4 separate regions of the Homo sapiens genome follow, and all the other regions are linked to region 1. Evidence: promoter capture Hi-C in 16 types of primary human blood cells and fetal thymus (Javierre and others, 2016). All regions are on one chromosome and are shown on one strand. Each heading gives the region's core, a stretch centred on a gene start or on the middle of the fragment in contact. The rest is flanking DNA. Distances are from core to core; before and after follow the strand shown. Region 1 holds the start of ST6GAL1 (ST6 beta-galactoside alpha-2,6-sialyltransferase 1). Region 2 has its middle 4.1 kb from the start of RPL39L. Region 3 has its middle 27 kb from the start of RTP1. Region 4 has its middle 53 kb from the start of RPL39L.

Region 1 (3,467 bases), core at 9-2,508:
AGGAAAGGGAGGCTCACAGGATGTGGAACTCACCCAAGAAGGCACAGCGAGTTGGTCATAAAGATTTGAATTCACTCTGGCTGGCACTCCCTTCAATTGGAGCTCTTTGTACTGAGCAAAAATGCCTCAGGGGCAGCAGGGAAGGGAATGACAGTATCAGCAGAAGGGAGCCAGGATCAGGACAGGGAGGAAGCAGTGTTTGGAAGAAGGGTGCTGGGGACAGGGTGCGGATGTAACTTCCCTTTCCAAGGTTGGTGATGTGGGGTAGGCACCTCATTTGGAGACAGAACTCTGGGCCTGGGCTTCAGGCACTTTAAGTGTGCACTGGACTTTGTGTTCCCAGAGGACCCCCAAACCTTCCAGTATCTCCTTCCTTTCCCCTTTCCCACCCAGCACACAGCCTGGTGCCTAGTGTGCACTCAGTAGACAACTGGGATATGACTATTGCCTCTGGTAGTCACATCCTCTCTTTGGGCTATGGGAGGCTGGACTGGAGGCCTTAAAGGCCCCTTCCGCCCTCCTGTTGGGCAGTTTTTCTTTCTTAGGGAAATCGCCTTGGGGCTATCGGGGATGGTCAGTACGCAGCTTGGTTAATCCTCTTTCCTTCCCCAGCAGCCCCACCGTCGTCCGGGTGAAAAGAAAGAACCTCGCTCCCTTCACCATCCAGGCTGAGGCTTCAGTCTTTCAGCCTGCAGCTTGGGGTGGAAGCCTCTGGGTGCAGGGGTTCGAGGACGCTCCTCTCCTTCTGTATTTGCCATTTGAGAGCGCCCAGTAGGAGTCATGCCTCAATGTTAGGAGGTTAATGCCAAACGCAGTGAAAGATTTTGTTCTTTCCTATTCTAGATAAGAGCAACACGAGTCTTCGGAGAGGTTAAGCGACTTCCTCAGGGTCTCGCAGTCAGCCGGTAGCAGAGACCGGGTGTACAGCACCCGCATGTTAGGACCAAAAGCCGGACACTGCTGGATTGACCCCTCGCGGCCAAGCGGGGAAGAGGCATTTAGGGGTCCTTGCGCAGCCGCGTGGCCCCTCCCACTCGGCCCTCGATCCACCCTCCTTGAGAGCAGGCAGGATTCTAGCATCACCCAGTGCCTTCATCAAGAGTCTTTAACCCCAAGCCCGCTCGCTAGCGACCTCCAGGCCGGTTTGGGGCGCGGTGTGGCCGGTGGCGAGAGGTGGAGTGGGGGCGGAGACCGACCCAGTCTTCGCAACTCTATTTGCATACGGAGGCGACTCGCTTCCTTCCCGCCCCTCCGCCGCGCTCTTCTTCCTTCCTTCTCCAGTCCCTTCCACTGTGCGTCTTCTGTCCCCCGTTCTTCCCCAGCGGACCCCTCTTTCGAGACTCCCTAGTGGGGTCCCCAGCTCCCGGGCGATCCTGCCCTTGCCGAGCGCGTTTTCTGGAGTCACCTGGGGGAGGGGAGTCCTGGGCAGGGCCGGGCTGGGGAAGACGCCTGGGGCACTGCCCGGCGTTAACAAAGGGAGCCGATACCGACCGGCGTGGGCGCGGAGCGGGCGGCCGCCACCGAGCGTGCTGAGCAACCGCAGCCTCCGCGGCCGAGAGTGCAGCGAGTGAGTAGGGGGTGCGGTGGGCGGCGGCGCGGCCCGGGCTATCCCGGGAGGAGTGTGATGCAAAGGGGCGCGGGAGGATAGCGGAGGCGCGGGGCCCGCGGCGCGCGTAGGGCGCAGGGAATCTCTCTCCAGCTCCGCCTCAGCTGCCTTGGCTCCGGGGCTGGCCGCCTTTTGGTTGGGGGTGTGTGCATTTTTGTCAGGGCCAAAGGGCCACCCTGGCTTCTCTCTGGCTCCGCGAGCCTGCGGATCCACAACAAACCCACGTGCGCACAGCCCCGGGGAACACGGATTTCTCCACGGCACCGTCAGTATGGGGTGGGGTGGCGTGGGGGCATTGCGCCTTGCAGAGTCTGGGTTTACGGATCGACAAATTGAGGCCCGCGGCAGCGGAGGGGGCACAGGCACCATAACAAACGCACGTGCGCCCTGCCCGGAGAGCTGGACGCACTGCATACCCTTAGGGGCCGCCCTGCGGTGCCGGGCCATTGTCTCAGCCTCGGGGGAGGGAGTGGCTCTAGAGGCGCCACTTGCTGGAAGAGGGCGAGAGAGACATTTAAAAGGTACCGCTTGGGCATCAGACTAAACTGCCAGACTTAAAAAGGGAAACCAAAACAAGAAAGCAGCTACAAAAAGGTTACTCCAGGCTGAGTCGGTCCCCGGCCGTGGCGCATTCTTTTGGGTGAAGTGGACCACCCCTCACCTTCACCTCCTGGAGGTCTCTTAGAGATGTGGGTTGGGTTAAGGGTCTAAGGGTGCCCCTCAAAAAAAGAGAGTGCTGGGTGCACTATTGTCCCCGCACTCCGGCGATTGCCTCTGTGGGGATATTTTGGTCGCCTCCTCAGCCTGCGGGAAGAATGTACGAGTCGCCCAGTGCGGTCTTGCTCTTTGCCTCTGAGGCCCGTGTCCGTGTGCCCAGACACCCCAGATGTCACTAGCCCCTTTTGGCTTGTTAATGCATTTTCGCAAGCAAGGCCAGCCGAGACCTCGTATTCTAGCTGGGGACGTACAATTTTCAGTTCTGAGTTTATTTGAAAGAAATTCCGAGGTCCGGAAAAAGAGAACTCTTGTTTGTTTTGCTTTTTCTTTGCTTACATATGCTCAGCTCAGCTTTGCAGATGTTAATCGGACACGATCTGCAGCGGGGAGATGGTTTCGCGGTGAATTGGTCTCTGAGGCGATGGTGTTGGTGCAGGTTGTGGGCGTGCAGTGTGAGCAGGAATGGAGGCGCCGCCGCCCCAGTGTGTGCCTGCTGAGCGGGCGGGCTGCTGCCTCACCTTGGCTAGTGTGGCTGAAGATTAACCTGTCCCCGGGGGGGGAACTGGAGAGCCTCCAATCCTATTCCGCTGTTATTGAAAAGGTCTAGAGAGCATCTAGGGAGCCTTCTCATTTTACAGGCAGGAAGCTGAGGCCGGAGAGTTCAGCCACTTGTCCAAGTTTAAACCGGGTGAAACGGGCCACAGAGAGAACACTTGAGTGTGGGTCTCCCAACTCCCACTGCATCGCTCAGCGGGCAACTAAAGGCAAAACCGGGATTCTGTGATTGGCCTAAAAGGCAGTGGCCTTAGGCAGAATAGGGTGAAACAAAGAGTAATTCAAATAGAAAGCTGCACCCTTCCATTATCCCTTTCAAGAATTCTTTATTCTGTTGAGAAAAAATAGATTTAGTAATTCCTTACTCTCCTTCAAGCCTTTCAAAAGCTTAGTTATTTTTCTCTCCTGGCTGCCCCTTCCCCTCAAATTGGAATAAGGCCAGCTACGGAGACTCAGATGTTTTGCCTCTCATCCTTGTGCCAGGAGGCCTTTGTTTGGGCAAAAGCATGGGCTGTTGACATCAGCCCCACGGGGAAGAAAGTGTGTCTTAGCAAGCTACTCCTGAGCCACTTGTGGGAGAACAAAGCAT
Region 2 (3,609 bases), core at 308-2,807, 210 kb after region 1:
CTCAAATAATGACATTGGGATATGATTTTAAAATTTATTTTCCTGAAATAATGTGTGTGTCAAATCTTAACACCCCATTGTATTCCTTGTCAGTAACTTTGAAGACAACAACAACAAAAAACCTCCTTATCTTTATATCACTGTTTTGGCCTATTTGCATTGCTATAAACGAACACTTGAGGATGGATAATTTATGAAGAAAGATTTATCTGGCTCATGTTCCACAGGCTGTATAAGAAGCATGGTGCCCACATCTACATCTAGTGAGAGCCTCAAACTGCTTTCACTCATGGTGCAAGGGAAAGGGGAGCAACTTGTGCAGAGATCACATGGCAAAAGACGCAAGAGAGAGTAGAGAGGGAGGCTCTTTTTAAATATCAGCTCTCAAGGTGTATTAGTCCATTTTTACACTGCTAATAGAGACATACTGGAGACTGGGTAATTTGTAAAGGAAAGCAGTTTAGTTGACTCACAGTTCTCCATGGCTGGGGAGGCCACACAAAATTTACAATCATGGTGGAAGAGGGAGCAAACATGTTCTTCTTCACATGGCAGCAGCAAGGAGAAGTGCTGAGCAAAAGGGGGAAAAACCCCATATAAAACTATCAGACCTCATGAGAACTCAATCGCTATAACAAGAACAGCATGAGGGTTAACTGCCCCATGATTAAATTATCTCCCACTGGGTCCCTCCCACAACATGGGGATTATGGGAACTACAATTCACGATGAGATTTGAGTTGGGCACAGCCAAACCATATCACGAAAGCACTAAGAGTGCGAAGTCACCATCCCCCAGAGAGGGCATTAATATATTCACGAGGGATCCACCTTAAACCTCAGGACCCAAATATTTCCCATCAGGCCCCACCTCTAACATTAGGGATCAAATTTCAATATGCAGTTTGGGGGACGAACGTCCAAAGTATAGCAATCAGCCTTTTAAAACTTACCCTTTTCATTTTGAGATAATTGCAGATTTACCTGCAGTTGTAAGAAGTAGTATAGGGGCTGAGTGTGGTGGCTTATGCTTATAAACCCAGTGCTTTGGGGGGCCAAGGTGGGAGGATCTCTTGAGCCCAGGAGTTTAAGACAGTCTGGGTCATACAGCAAGACCCTGATCTACAAAAAATTGAAAGTTAACCAGGCATGGTGGTGTGCATCTGTAATCCAGCTACTTGGGAGGCTGAGGCGGGAGGGTGGCTTGAGTCCAGGAATTTGAGGCAGCAGTGAGCTACAATCACATCACTGCACTCCAGCTTGGTTGGCAGAGTGAGACCCTGTCTCTAAAAAAAGAAAGAAAGAGAAATAGTTCAGAGATTCTTTGTGCCCTTTGCCCAGTTTCTCCAAAAGGTAAAATCTTGCAAAACTCTACAATAATATTACTATCAGGATATTGGCATTGTTACAGTCAAGATACAGAACTCTTCCATCACCATAAGAATCCCTCATGGTGCTCTTTAATAGGCACAGCAACTTTCCACCTGCTTCCACTCCTCCCATATGCCATTAGTTCTCCATTTTTATAAACTTGTCCTTTCAAGATCGCAATATAAAGGAGAACTATAGCATGTAACCTTTTGGGATTGGCATTTTTTTTTGCTCAGCATAATTCTCTGGAGATTCATCCAGTTTATTGCCTGTATCAGTAGTTTGTGTCTTTTTATTGCTGAATAATATTCCATAATATCCACAGTGTATTTAACCATTATCAGTTGAAGAACATCTGGGCTAATTATGAATAAAGTTGCTATAAAATTTGTGTCTAGGTTTTTGTGTGAACATGAGTCTTTATTTCTTTGAGACAAATGCCCAGAAGTGTAATTCCTAAGCCATATGGTAGTTGCATGCTTAATTTTTCAGAATCTGACAAACTGATTTCCAGAATGGCCATATCATTTTTTTCCCACTAGTAAACTATGAGTGATTCTTTGCATCCTCACCAGAATTTGATGTTGTCACTTCTTTGTTTTAGTAATCTTGCTAGGTATATATCAATATATCATTGTAGTTTTAATTTGCATTTCCCTAATGGCTAATGATATAGAACATCTTTTTTCATTTGCCAATTTGCAATCTTGTGTATCCTCTTCAGTAAAATCTCTTTTCATTACCATGTTTGTTTCCTTTTACTATTGAATTTTGAGAGCTCTTTATATATTCAAAATGCTAGGCCTTTGTCAGATATGTGTTTTACAGATATTTTCTCCCATTCTGTAGCTTGTCTTTTCATTCTCTTAACAGGGTCTGTCACAGAGCAAAAGTTTTTAACGGGTGAAGTTACATTTATCAACTTTTCTCTTACGAGTGATGTTTTTAGTGTTAAGACTCTTTGTCTAGCTCTAGCTCTTAAAGATTTTCTCTTTTTTTCCTAAAAGTATTATAGTTTGATATTTTACATTTAAGTCTGTGATCCATTTTTAGTTAATTGTTATATAAGGTATGAGTACTTTTTTGCCTGCTTTATTAGTCTATTCTCACACTGCTATAAAGATACTACCTGAGACTGGGTAATTTATAAAGAAAGGAGGTTTAACTGACTCACAGTTCCACATGGCTGAGGAGGCCTCAGGAAACTTACAATCATAGCAGAGGGCAAAGGGAAAGCAAGTACCTTCTTCACAAGGTGAAGACAGGCAAGAGAGAGAGAGCTCAGGGAAATTGCCAGACTTATCAAACAACCAGATCTCAGGTAAAAACACTTACTATCATGAGAACAGCATTGGAGAAACCACCCCCATGAGAAATCACTCACTATCATGAGAACAGCGTAGAGGAAACTGCCCCCATGATCCAATCACCTCCCACCAGGTCCCTCCCTCAACGTGTGGGGATTACAATTCAAGATGAGATTTGGGTGGGGACACAGACCCAGACCATATCATTCCACCCTGGCCCCTCCCAAATTTCATGTTCTTTTCATATTTCAAAACCAGTCATGCCTTCCCAACAGTTCCCCAAATTCTTAACTCATTCAATCATTAACTCAAAAGTCCAAGTCCAAACTCTCATCTGAGACAAGGCAACTCCCTTCCACCAATAAGCCTGTAAAATCAAAAGCAAGTTAGTACTTCCAAGGTACATGGGGGTACAGGTATTTGATAAATGTTCCCATTCCAAATGGGAGAAATCGTCCAAAACAAAGGGGCTACAGGCCCCATGCAAGTCCAAAATCCAAACAGGGCAGTCATTAAATCTTAAAGCTTCATGATGATCTCCTTTAACTCCATATTTCCCATCCAGGTCATGCTGATGCAAAATATAGGCTCCCGAGGCCTTTGGCAGCTCCACCTCTGTGACACTGCAGGATACAGCCCCCATGGCTGCTTTCACGGGCTGGTGTTAAGTGTCTGCAGCTATTCCGGGCACAAGGTGCAAGCTGTGGATGGCTCTATCATTCTGGGGTCTGAGGTGGCCCTCTTCTCACAGCTGCACTAGGCAGTGCACCAGTGGGGACTCTGTGTGGGGGCTCCAACCCCACATTTCCCCTCTGCATTGCCCTAGTAGAGGTTCTCCATGAGGGCTCCACCCCTGAAGCAGGCTTCTGCCTGGACATGCAGGTGTTTCCATACATCCTCTGAAATCTAGGCAGAGGCTGCCAAGATTTCA
Region 3 (3,108 bases), core at 41-2,540, 240 kb after region 1:
TATGGTGTTTCTGTAAGAAACCTTAACTTGTCCTGAGAATTTGAAGAGGAATCCTTCCGCTTCCAGAGATCTTTGTTATTCGCTCTCATGACCTATCTATCTTGGCATGATGTGATGGTTGTATGAATGCCAGCAAATCACTATAGACTCTAAGTTCACTGACAGCAGAGTCTGCCTTCTTTGTAAATAAATACTTTACTCTTACCACACATACTGAAATATAGTAGAGTTCAACAAATGTTTCTTAAATGATGAGGGGTCTTTTGGTCTTATATAGTTCAGGTGGTTGGGGTATGGAGTAAAGGATTTAAATATTTGGCCAATCAAATTAAAAAGGGAAGCTGTCCTGGATTTGTTTTAAGTGATGATCCAGGGCAGAGGATTTGCTCAGGACTTAGCAGTAGAATGATGCTCTACCTGAAAAGCTTGTTTGTTTTTGCTGAGTAGGTACTGAGCACTTTCTCACTATTTTTCTCTCCCTTCTCACATTGGTAGCTGCAAACATAGAGCTTGTTTTGTGGTACTCCTATAACACATGTATACATCTATGCCCCAAATCCAGTCCTGGATCCATCTTATTTACAGTTTTATTCCCTTTTACCTTCTGCTTTTGTTTTTACTATTAAAATTTTTTTTAAATTTCAAATTTCCAAATGCAACTCCTTGAAATTCTTCATAATCATTCTTCATAATTCCTCATAATTCTTCAAAAAGAATTCCTTAAAATCATCTAATTTAGTACATAATTAAGTTGTCTGTGTTATCTCAAACATGCCTTTTTATAGTTGATTTGATTCAGTCAGAAAGTTCACATATCACATCGGGTTGTGCGTCTCAATTCTTTTTAACTTTATAGCAGTCCTCCTTCCCCCTCTTCTTCTTTACCATTTATTTATTTGGAAAAAAAATCATGTATCTTGTAGAATTGCTCACATTTTGGACTTTGGTGATACATTCTTGTGGTTTTTGTCTGAGACGTTTCCTCATACTTCGTATTTCCTCTAGACTATCTACAGGCCTGATCAGGTATGTTTTTTTTTTTTTTTTTTTTGGAAGTCTCACTCTGTCACCCAGGCTGGAGTGCAGTGGCACGATCTAGGCTCACTGCAACCTCTGCCTCCCGGGTTCAAGCGATTCTCCTGCCTCAGGCTCCTGAGTAGCTGGGATTACAGGCACGCGCCACCATGCCCAGCTAAATTTTGTATTTTTAGTAGAGACAGGGTTTCATCATGTTGGTCAGGCTGTTCTCGAACTTCTGACCTCGTGATACACCCACTTTGGCTTCTCAAAGTGCTGGGATTATAGGCGTGAGCCACCGCACCCAGCCAGATTTGGATTTTTTAATGTGACTATTTCAGTGCTAGTGTTGGACTGTTCCTGCAGCGTTATATTAGGAGACACGTGATGTCTGATTGCCTTTCTTTTCTTAATTGATCAGTAAGATCAGATGGTGTCAGCCTGACCCATCCACTATAAAGTTCCCCACAACATCTTAATTAATGAGTTTAGCAGATTTAGATTTTTTTCTTTATCATTATTTCATTAGGACTGCAAAATAGTGATATTCTGATCCTATTGTTCCCTTTTATTTTTTATTTATTTACTTTTTGAGATAGAGTCTTGCTCTGTCACCCAGGCTGGAGTTCAGTGGCGCAATCTCAGCTCACTGCAACCCCCACCACCTGGGTTCAAGTAATTCTCATGCCTCAGCTTCGCGAGTAGCTGGGATTACCAGTGTGCTCCACCAGGCCCAGCTGATTTTTTTGTATTTTTAGTAGAGATGGGGTTTCACCACATTGGACAGGCTGGTCTCAAACTCCTGACCTCAAGTGATCTCCCTACTTGGCCTCCCAAAGTGCTGAGATTACAGGTGTGAACCACTGCGCCTCGGCCCCTTTTCTTTTATTAATTGTAATTCTTCTCTAAAGAATAGCTTCCCCTCAACTATTATTTGGTTATCACAAAATGCAGATTACATAAGGAAGCCAAGATAAATATGTAATATTTTTCCCTTGCCTATTTTTGAAATAAATAGTTGGTTTTTTTTATTTAAAATATCATTATTAATTTATGGATTTTTAGCATATTTGATGTACTTCAATGAATTGTGGCCATTATTCTTTTTGATGATCCAATTATTTTGTTTTTGGCCAGTGAAAGCTTCTTCAGGTTAGTTTCATTTGCCTTTTGTCTTTTGACATGACAATAGGAATTTTTGAAATCTGGTACAAGAAAATATTCCAGGCTCATTTTATACATTTATTGACTTATATCTGAAGGAATTATTTTTCCAGAAAGTTCTGATCACTTTTGGTGATCCAGGTGCTGAGAGGTACTTGTTGCTAATGGATTGATGATTTATTTCTTTCAGGTCTGTGTAATAGACAAAGTTAGGAAGTTCATAATTTTTATGGGCAATACAATTTCATTATGATATAATACTTATATTTCCAATTCAAATTCAGATAATAGGAATTTTTATTTACCATCTTAGATTTTATGTATTTCCAATCTCTTTTTGATTACCATAAAAATCTTGGTTCCCAGTAACATTAATAGAAGCACTAATACAATGTGTTACTTACCCTATTAAAATAAAAATAATAACACTGTAATTACTCCCCATCCCCACACTTCAGCCTCCATGAGATATATGGAAACAGTCAAATTATTATGTTTTAAAGTCATTTGAAATAATTCACCATTGAGTAAGCCACAGATTTCATAATGTTAGGTTAATTTTTTCCCCAAGTTTTCAGAATTTTTAAAAATTCAATTTTTTTGTTTTATAATTATGTAAAAAATAACATGGACCCAAAACAACACAACACAACAAAGCACATTTAGAAATATCTGTGTTCTACCTGTGTCTCCTCTACCCTGTTCCCTCCTCCCCAGTGAACAATAATATTCCTTAGTTTTTAACTTATCTTTCCATTTATTTTTAATATAGTCAAATATGTATCTTTCATCCTTCGAGGAAAGGTAGCAATCTTTATATACAGTTCTGCCCCTTGGTTTTTTCTTTTCCTTTTTTTGTTTTTTAGTTGAGAGGCTATCCTGGATATCACTCCATAATGGTTTATAGAGATTATCCTCATTCTTTTG
Region 4 (3,450 bases), core at 451-2,950, 160 kb after region 1:
CCTTCCTTCCATCCCTCCCTGCTCCTCCCTATTCCCAGGAACTTTCTGTTTTCTGCACTACAGATTAGTTTGCATTTTTCAGAATTGTATATAAATGCAACCATACAGTATGGACCCTGTATCTATGTCAGTCAGGGTTCAACAAAAGAGAGTAGGGTGGGGGTAAAATATATGTATCAATCTGCTACAGGAAATTGGCTTTATGCAACTGTGGCAGCTGGTCAAGGAGTCTCTTTAAGGCTGTTTCCATGTCTGATGCTAGAGCTGGAAGTCTACTGGGCAAAAAGTCAAGACGATCACAAGTGGGCTGGCATGGGGAAGCATGAGCTGGAGCCTCACAAGGACAGGCTGAAACTCTTGTCCATTCTTGTTGCCTCTGATGTTGGTGATGAGGGTATCCTGCAGAAGCCAGGGCGCTTTGTCACAGAACTAAACACATACATGGTCCCAAAGTCAGAAAAACTGGTGAATCCAAGGGTAGGTAGTAGAGCAACTGTAGGCCCAGATGCTGCTTCAAAGTAGCTGCTGCCTTTTTCCCACCGTCTAAAGTCCCTTGTTGCTAACTCTGATAGGAAACATACAGGAAGTAGAATTCTTGGACAGTTTAGACTGGCCAAGTACAACATTACAAATCCATCACTTAAATCACAGACTTTTTTTTTTTTTTTTTTTCAGACAGGATCCGGCTCTGTTGCTCAGGATGGAGTGCAGTGGTGCAATCTCAGTTCGCTGCAACCTCCACCTCCTGGGCTCAAGAAATCCTCCCACCTCAGCCTCCTGAGTAGCTGGGATGACAGGTGCACACCACTCTGCCCGGATACTTTTTGTATTTTTTGTAGAGACAAGGGTCTCATTATGTTGCCCAGGCTGGATGACAGGTGCACACCACTATGCCCGGATACTTTTTGTATTTTTTGTAGAGACAAGGGTCTCATTATGTTGCCCAGGCTGGTCCTGAACTCCTGAGCTGAAGCAATCCACCTGCCTCGGCCTCTCAAAGTGCTAGGATTTCAGGCATGAGCCATTGTGCCGGCCCACATACTCTTTTTTTTTTTTTTTGTCCAGCTTCTTTTACTCAGCATAATGTTTTGAGATTCATCCATACTGTAGTGTATATTAATAGCTTATTCCTCTTATTGCTGAGTAGTATTCCACTTTGTGGATATACCATATTTGTATAACAGTTATCTTTGTTGTTGAACATTTGGATTGTTTTCTAGTTTGGGGATATTATAAATAAAGTTGCTATGACCATTTGTATACAAGTCTTTTATTTCTGCTGGGTGACTTGTAGGAGTGAAATGGTTGAGTCATATTATAGGCATTTAGTTAATTTTTAAAGAAACTGCCATATTGTTTCCTAAAGTGGTTGTACTATTTTAAATTTCCACCGGCAGTGCATAAAAATTTTAATTCTGCCACATTATGGCTAACCTTAGTTTAAGTCTTTTTAATTTTAGACATCATAATCGGTGTGTTATCTTATTTTGGTTTTAATTTGCATTTCCCTAATGGCATATAATGTTCATCATCTTTTCATGTGCTTATTTCCTATCCATTTTCTTTGATGAAGAATCTTTTCAAATAATTTGTCCATCTCTTAATGGACAATGATTGTTTATTGTTATATTATTGAGTTTTTAAGAATTTATATATTTATGTATAAATTTATATAAATTATTTATATATTATATTTATATATTCTAGATACAAGTCTTTTATCAGGACTTGTGATTTGTAAACATTTTCTCTCAATCTGTGGTCTGTTTTTTTCATTCTCTTAAAAATGCCTCTAAAAAACAAATTTTAAATTTTGATGAAGTCCAATTTATCTTCTATTGATCATGTTTTTGGTGTCATAACTAAGATGTTTTGGCCTAACCCCAAGGTTATAAAGATTTCTTTTAAAAGTGTTACAGTTTTAGTTACATTTAGGTCTATGATCCTAATTTTTTTTGTATTGGTGCAATGTATGGAAGAAAGTTGGGGTTTTTGCACATGGATATTCAATTGTTCCAGTACAACATGTTGAAAAGAATATGCTGCCTCCACTGAATAGCTTTTGCACTTTTGTAAAAAAAAAAAAAAAAAAAAAAAAAATCAATTGACCGTATATGTGTGGATTTACTTCTGGACTTTGCTCTGTTCCATTGGTCTATTTGCCTATCTGGATGCTAGTTACACACTGTTATGATTATTGTAGCTTTAAATTTCTTTAAATTTTTTTTGGTGGGGGGTATAGCCGGGCACGGTAGTACATGCCTGTAGCTCCAGGTACTTGGGAGGCTGAGGCAGGAGGATCACTTGAGCCCAGGAAGTTCAAGGATATCTTGAGCAACATAGCAAAACCCTGTATCAAAGAACAACAACAACAACAAAAATTGGGAGGGTGAGGGTATCTTTGGTCCTTTTACATTTCCACGTAAGTTTTAGAAATAGCTTGCCAGCATCTACAAAAAAAAGCCTGCTAGATTTTGACTGAGATTGCATTAAATCTATGGATCAATTCAGGAAAAATTGACATCTTAACAATAGTAAGTCTTCTAGTTCGTGAGTGCAGTATATTTCTGCACTTATTTAGGTTTTCTTTAATTTCTCTCAGAAATGCTTTGTAGATTCTAGTTTATGAGTCTTGCACATCTTTTGTCAGATTTATCCCCCTAAGTATTTCATATTTTTGATGCTGCTGTAAATGTTTGTTTTTAATTTCAATGTCTGAATGTTTGTAGCTAGTATATAGACATACAGTTGACTTTTGTATCTTGATTTTGTGTTTAGTGATCTTGCTAAATTTAGTTCTAGGGGCTTTTTTTGTAAATTCTTTGGTTTTTTCTTTTTTTTTTTTAAATAGGTAGTCATTTCATCTGCAAAAAAAGACAGTTTCTTCTTGCATTGTTTCTGGTGAAAAATCTGCTGCCATCCTTTTCTTTGTTCCTCTGTATGTAATGTGTCTTTTTTTTTTTTTTTTTTTGAGACGGAGTCTCGCTCTTTCGCCAGGCTGGAGTGCAGTGGCACGATCTCACCTCACTGCAACCTCCGCCTCCCGGGTTCAGGTGATTCTCCTGCCTCAGCCTCCCGAGTAGCTGGGACCACAGGCACCCGCCACCACGTGCGGCTACCGTAATGTGTCTTTTTAAAAATTTACTTTTACTTATATTATTTTTAATTGACAAATCATAATTGTATTACATGTATGGAATACAATATGATGTATACACATACACATACATGTGGAGTGATTAAGTCAAGCTAATTAACATATTCACCACCTCAATTATTTGACATTTTTTGTGGCAATACATTTGAAATTTACTTTCTTAGTTATTTTGAAATATACAACATATTATTGAATATAGCCAGCCTGGTGTCCAATAGATCTCAAATCTTGTTCCTGCCGTCTAGCTGAAACTTCATACCCTTTGACCAGTAGTAACTCCCCATTCTCTCACT

The links. The method cuts DNA at HindIII sites, captures the fragments that hold promoters and counts their contacts. A CHiCAGO score of 5 or more calls a contact.
Region 2: a contact is called between a fragment that was not itself captured here and the fragment with the promoter of ST6GAL1 in region 1, in 1 of 17 cell types (non-activated CD4 T cells). The highest score is 5.3, in non-activated CD4 T cells.
Region 3: a fragment that was not itself captured here is called in contact with the fragment with the promoter of ST6GAL1 in region 1 in 8 of 17 cell types (non-activated CD4 T cells, total CD4 T cells, naive CD4 T cells and 5 more); the score reaches 7.7 in non-activated CD4 T cells.
Region 4: a fragment that was not itself captured here is called in contact with the fragment with the promoter of ST6GAL1 in region 1 in 1 of 17 cell types (non-activated CD4 T cells); the score reaches 6.1 in non-activated CD4 T cells.

The regions. Positions count from the first base shown.
Region 1 is chr3:186,929,268-186,932,734 of GRCh38, forward strand. ST6GAL1 (ST6 beta-galactoside alpha-2,6-sialyltransferase 1) reads left to right here and starts at 1,259. Exons shown (of 8, transcript NM_173216.2): 1 at 1,259-1,567. RefSeq lists an enhancer at 874-1,482 and silencers at 1,170-1,249, 1,490-1,679. The HindIII fragment of the contact is 4,226 bases long and covers 1-3,263 here.
Region 2 is chr3:187,141,823-187,145,431 of GRCh38, forward strand. No RefSeq gene overlaps it. Among named protein-coding and RNA genes, the nearest start is that of RPL39L, 4.1 kb to the left of the region's middle. The HindIII fragment of the contact is 3,288 bases long and covers 1-3,201 here.
Region 3 is chr3:187,169,333-187,172,440 of GRCh38, forward strand. No RefSeq gene overlaps it. Among named protein-coding and RNA genes, the nearest start is that of RTP1, 27 kb to the right of the region's middle. RefSeq lists an enhancer at 1,511-2,012. The HindIII fragment of the contact is 1,735 bases long and covers 424-2,158 here.
Region 4 is chr3:187,084,877-187,088,326 of GRCh38, forward strand. No RefSeq gene overlaps it. Among named protein-coding and RNA genes, the nearest start is that of RPL39L, 53 kb to the right of the region's middle. The HindIII fragment of the contact is 5,150 bases long and covers 1-3,450 here.